Linked DNA regions of Homo sapiens: region 2 is linked to region 1. Evidence: promoter capture Hi-C in human tissues and cell types (Jung and others, 2019). All regions are on one chromosome and are shown on one strand. Each heading gives the region's core, a stretch centred on a gene start or on the middle of the fragment in contact. The rest is flanking DNA. Distances are from core to core; before and after follow the strand shown.

Evidence for each region. The method cuts DNA at HindIII sites, captures the fragments that hold promoters and counts their contacts. A contact is called where the count stands out against the background at its distance.
Region 2: a fragment that was not itself captured here is called in contact with the fragment with the promoter of CLSTN2 in region 1 in 2 of the 25 tissues and cell types used here (H1 embryonic stem cells and heart left ventricle).

The regions. Positions count from the first base shown.
Region 1 is chr3:139,933,566-139,936,646 of GRCh38, reverse strand. CLSTN2 (calsyntenin 2) reads right to left here and starts at 1,462. Exons shown (of 17, transcript NM_022131.3): 1 at 1,164-1,462. The coding sequence starts at 1,272. RefSeq lists silencers at 1,315-1,374, 1,415-1,464. The HindIII fragment of the contact is 4,702 bases long and covers 1-3,081 here.
Region 2 is chr3:139,769,266-139,772,346 of GRCh38, reverse strand. No RefSeq gene overlaps it. Among named protein-coding and RNA genes, the nearest start is that of NMNAT3, 93 kb to the right of the region's middle. The HindIII fragment of the contact is 6,358 bases long and covers 1-3,081 here.

The sequences.
Region 1 (3,081 bases), core at 213-2,712:
TCCCCTAAGCTAGTGGTCAAGTGTAGCTCAAAGCAAGCGTCCGAATCAGGCTGTCTCTAACAGGGAATCTATTTTCTGACAGGCGCAAACCCCTCCGCCCTCTGATGATTGCCAGGCAGGATTTGGGGACCAAGTACCCCTCATTGTCACCTGGCGGATTTGGCCACAGTCCACAAACCAAACGCAAGCCCTACTTATGAACAGCGCAGAGAATCAACAAGTTATCACTAAGCTGTGCGCCCCAGCTAGGATCTGCCACAGCCTCCCCTGAGCCCACCACTGTTCCCCACCAGCTCTGCTCTTCCCTCGCCTCCCCACCCCCTGCAAGCACGTGACCTCCTGTTTCAGACCCGGCCCCCCACCCCAGAGCTCCCGACGCTCCCAGGCAGCTGTCAAAGTCCGGGGTTCGCCGGCTTCCAGGCTCGCCTGACAGAGCCAGGCGTTCGCTTGGATCTAGCTTCCTTCCGGGCGGGAGGCGCGGGGAGGTCAAGCTCTTCAAAGGAACAGGGTGGGCAGGGGAGTGGTGCCAGGTTAGGCTCCTCGGTCCTCGGTAGTCAGAGCGGAGTAGGAAAGGCAGCGGGGAGCCTCACATCCCGCGCTTCTTCCGGACCCCGCCGCCTACCCGGAGGGTACACGTTCCCCGGGGAGTCAGAGACGCCCTGGGGGAGCTTGAGGAGTGTCAGCGGGGCCTTCCCTGGAGCCTACAAGTTTCCACTCCATCCCCGAGCTGGGAGACAAGTCACAGCTCGGCTCCCTCCTTGAAAGCACCGCCGCTGATCCTTCCCCCAGGCAGGAGCAGACACCTGCTTGTCCCCACGGCGCGCCAGCGCCCTGCTCTAGCCGTCCCTGGGCCAGAGCTCGAAACTCACCCACTGCGCTCCCACCCCGGCACAGACAGCCCTCAAAGTTGTCCGTACTCCCCAGACCTCGCCTTCTGCTCAGCCCCCGGACCCCGCCCAGGGGTTGAGTTGACGTCCGCGGGTGGACCTCTCTGGTCCGCTGCGCAGGGAACTGACTTCGGGAATCCAGGGCGCACAGAGGCCAAAGAAGCTGCGGCAAGGGAGGGTGGGCAAATCCAGCTTGAGCCTAGGTCCTTGCCGCTTTCACCCTCAAGCCTGCCCTGCCTCCCTCCTGGGAGAAGAGCAAACTTCCCCAGCACCCACCTTTAGCCGCGAGGAGGCGGCGCTGCCGGCTGTCCCCGCCACCGCCGCTGCCGCTCCCCACGCCCAGCGCCAGCAGGAGCGGCACCCAGCACAGCCGCCCAGGCAGCATCCTCGCAGCAGCCGCCAACGAGCTGCAGCCGCCGCCTACTGTCCGCGCCGGCTCTCGCCTCCCGGTGCCTGCCGCACCGTGGGCCGCCTCGCCGTGCCCGATGGGTGCGCTTCTAGCGCTGCCGCCGCGGCGCTCGGCCTCGGGTTCCCGCCGCTGCGCCGCTAGCTCGCCGGCAGCAGCCGCGCTCACTGGCGCGGACCCGGAGCGGCTCAGGCGCTCACCCCGGGACGGCCCGTGACGTCACGGAGGGAGGGAGGTGGCTCGTGCATATTCATGAACGCGGGCATCGGCGCCGGGTTCCGCGCTCCCCGCCCCAAGGCCCCGACCCCCAACTTTCCTCAGCCGTCTCCACGCTCCGGGGCCCTGTCCAGGTCCCCCTGCCCAGTCGGGACCGGGCCCCCAGAGGACCCTGGTGGGCGGCTCCGGAGAGCCCTCCAGCCCCGCGCCTCCACTCCGACTCTCGGAAAAGCTGCCGCAAGGGATGGAGGGCTCCCCCAGAAAGTGGCCACCCGAGGCCTGAGGGTCATCTGGGGTGGCGCGAGGGACCCTGACCTGCCATGCCCTTTGAACTGATATCTGGGCGGAGAGGACTGACGGGCGTCGCTAAGGGTCTTGCCCTTGGCTGGGTCTCTGGGCGTTCTGCGTCGACTGGTCTGGGGAGGGCGCCAGGCGCACACTAGAGCAGCGCCTAGTGGTGCTAGGGGTTGTCGGGCAGAGTAGATAGCCTTGGACCTGGATGGCAATGGCAGGGCTCCGCGTCATCTCCGAGAAGCAGGGGCAGCCGCGGCTCTTAGAGGCTGATAGAACAGCTAGATCAGAAAACTTGGGGTGCTGGGCCTGCTGAGGCTGCAGTGGCGGGGGCGGGGTGTCAAACTTAAAATTCCCTGCGGTATGGTGCCATGCAAGAAGTTGCCACCTTTATGTTGTCACTCCGCATCTCTAAGAACAGGCTACTTGACGTCATGCATTGTAAAATCTCGTGCCGTTGAGTATTGTCAGTTCCCTGAGTGCAGGAGCCAGTGCATATCTTTGCATCCTCAACCATCTCTAGGCCGTGAAAAAATTACAAAGGTACTCAAAAAAAAAAAAAAAAAAAACAGTAAGGACTCAGAATAAATCCTTGACCATATTTACCTAAATGAAATGCCAACATCACACACAATGCAGGGTTTATGAGGAATAGTTTGGAAATAAAGTAGATATGGAAATACAGAAACAAACAATATTATTTATTTAGTCATTGATTCAAGACGTTTGCTGAGCATCTAGACAGGCTGTATCACCCTGACAGTGAGCACTGGATTAGTCGTTGGAGATCCAAAGACAGAGGAGAGAGTGGGTCCTATCCTCAAAGCTTTTGTTCCCTGCTTGGGGAGCCAGAGAGGGCAGCAAAGGCAATTACAATCCCTTGTAAGTGTTATGGTCCTGCACATTCTTTATGTTGCTAGCTATGAGCCTATACAAATCAATTAACAAAATGTATATATTGCAAGAGTGCCTAAACAGCATCCTCTAATTAATAACTGTAGTTTGAGGTACTCAACAAAGCCATAAAATCCATTAACAGCACTCCTGCAGCTCAGCCTCCCTCTGCTGCCCTGGCAGCTCACTCAGAGCCTCTGCAGTGGTGAAAGCCAACTCTTCAGGATTTCAGGCACCAGGATGTGCTTGGGGACAGCAGTGAATCATGGTGGCTGCATGGGGCTCAGACCCATGTGGGGCTCTTTACCTTCAGGTCTCCTTTAGCCCACAAATCAACATGTGCGCTATTATTCTCATTTCACACATGATGAAATAGAGGCTCAGGGA
Region 2 (3,081 bases), core at 267-2,766, 160 kb after region 1:
TCTTCAGGCCCACAGATCCAATCACCATATGGGATATCCCACAGGCTTCCCAGCTCAACATGGGAAATTGAATTCATTGACTTTTCCCCAAATCTGCTCCTCGTACATCTTCTTCCCTGTTACCAAACAGAACTCCTTGGCCTCTTTCTCACTCTGAAATTCTCCTCTCGACACCATCAAATACATTCCACCTCGTCCTGCTGATTCTGCCTGTGGAACATTTCTCAATGCTTCTCCCCGTCTCTGCTCCACACTACCCTTCATGACCTGTCCTAATCTACCTCCTCAGTGGCATGTTTTGTCACCTCCATCCATCTTCCTGGAACCCTGCCCTCCAGCTACACTGAAACACTTCCAATTTTCTGAAGGAACCATTTTTCTTCTCCCGTCTAGCACTTTACCCTAAACGTTCTTTCCACCTGGTACATCTCCCTTCATGCACTCTTCTTTGACTGGCTAACTCATACTTGTCTTTCAGGACTCTGCTTAGATGCAACCTCATCCAGGAAGCCTTCCTGGACTTCTCCATGCAGATTGCACTGCTGTCTTTGGGGCTCCCAACTCCCCGTGCTATCTCTACCAGTTCGCATCACACAGTTCTGCCATCCTCTGTTCACTCACCTGATCTGTGAATTCCTCGAAGGCAAGATCCTGTGTCCCCAGGTCCTGGCTCATGGTGAACAGTGACAAATGTGGGCTGTCAATGGTAACAAACAAATCACCTGCCACCCACCTGCACCTCCAGCTGTCACCTGTCCATTTTGCCTGCACAGCCACCCCCATAAGATTTGTCTTAAGACTGTGCCCTGCTATTTCTGGCCCAGAACTTGAGGCTATGACCCTACTTGTCTCAGTCCATTTCAAAGATATTGATTTCACTTGGCTCCAAGGGTGGTGGGCCTGGAGAGTGTTCTGTAAGAGGCTAAATAAACACAGCTCACCTCCCCTGCCCCTACCAAGACACACACACTGTGGCTGCCTGTCTGCAGCATTCACGTGACAGTTTGCTCCCAGAGAATACTTGGAAGCGAATACTAACAAGAATTCACCTACTCTATTCTTTGGCTCAGTCTGAACCTCCAAACTTCTCTGGCTTCCTCTACCTCAGCTGAGTATAGCTGATGGTCCAGCCCCTTGCTGGGTACTGCAGGGAACTTAGCAAGAATAAAGTCAAAAAACGAAGTGTAAATGGGTAAAACTATTTGCATTTTTATCACTCAATAAGCTAATTTGTTAATATAAAATAATACCCCAGAAATCAGGAAGAAAAAAGACCAAAACAAACTGCAAAAAGTCAGGAAAAAGGGTAAGGTCTAGGAACATTTTAGAGGAAATGGCTCTTGAACATTTAAAATGGTGTTCAGCCTCATTTATATTTTTTAATGCAAAATGAAACTTATAATGCCGTATCTCACTTATTGAATTGACAAAGATCACAAAGTTTGATCACACATTGTGCTGATTAGAGTGTGAGGAACAGGAACTCTTGGGCACTACAGGGAGAAGTAGAAATCGGCACACTAGTAATGGAGAGCAGATCAACCATATGTATCGAAACTGGAAATGCTGACAGCTCTTCCTCTTCTAGAAATCTATCCCACCGGTATACATGCACACAGCAACATAATGCAGCCAAATCATTTGTTGCAGCATTGTTTTGGTAGCAGAAGCTCGGACAACTTATATATCCATCAATAGCAGATTGGGCTAAATAAATTATGGTATATACACGCAAGGGAATGTATGCAACTGCGAAAACAATGCAAGAACTCTTTATGTGCCGATGTTGAAAGTTATCCAGGCCGGGTGCGACGGCTCATGCCTGTAATCCCTGAACTTTGGGAGGCCGAGGTGGGCAGATCACAAGGTCAGGAGATCAAGACCATCCTGGCTAACACGGTGAAACCCCGTCTCTACTGAAAAATGCAAAAAAAAAAAAAATTAGCCGGGCGTGGTGGCGGGCGACTGTAGTCCCAGCTACTTGGGAGGCTGAGGCAGGAGAATGGCATGAACCCGGGAGGTGGAGCTTGCAGTGAGTGAGACTCCGTCTCAAAAAAAAAAGAAAGTTATCCAGATATATGTTTTATGTATGTGTGTATATGTATATAAATGTGTGTGCTTGTGTGTGTAGATACACATATATACACACACATTTATTATATCATGCATAAAATATCTGTGGGAGACAGGCATGGGGGAGAATTTTTCTCTCACTTCCTTCCTCAGTTTCTTGCTTACATATTTGTCCCATTCTGCTCACCCAACCCATGATTCCACTTCTCTAGCTGAGGCTTTCTCCTCTGGGGTAGGAGTCTTTGACATCCACTGGTTATAAAGATGTTTAGTGGGGAGGGCAAACAGCATGAAATCAGGGTTAGTTGCCTTGGCGCTGCTGTAACCTTAAATGTTAATGTTTCACAGGGCTCCATCCACTGCTTCTGCTTCTCTCATTTCATACATCAACTTCGGAGGCTCCCCTTCACCTGCGCGGCTCCAACTGTCCATCATCACTGAATATACCCAGTACTCCTCTCCAGCCTAGGCTTCTCTCTAAGCAAAATCCTAAGAGTGTATATTCCTGGACACCCTCACATCTGCTTAACAGAATCTCCTCTCCCAACCTGGAACCTGCAGAATATGGATCAGGGAGCCCAGATCAAAGACTGAGCACTATCAGACACATCCTTCCTCTAACACCATGTCCTATCCCACACCAAATCTTCCAGCTTTGACCTCACTCATGCTCTCAAATATGTCTGTCAGCTCCAATCCAACCCCTGCCTCCTGTTTTCTGACCTGGACCACCCTAATAGTTTCTTAATAGTTCTTCCTGCCTCCGAGGCCCTCCTTTTTTTCAAGCCACCCTCCACATTGCTGACAGACAGAGTTTTCTAAGATTCAAAGTTAACTAAGTGAAACCCCCTGCATAAGTTCTTTCAGTGGTTCCCCATATTATTATTTTTTAAAATTTTACTTCAAGTTCTGGGAGACGTGCAGAACATGCAGGCTTGTTACACAGGTATACATGTGCCATGGTGGTTTGCTGCAACTATCAACCCATCATCTAGGTTTTAAGCCCTG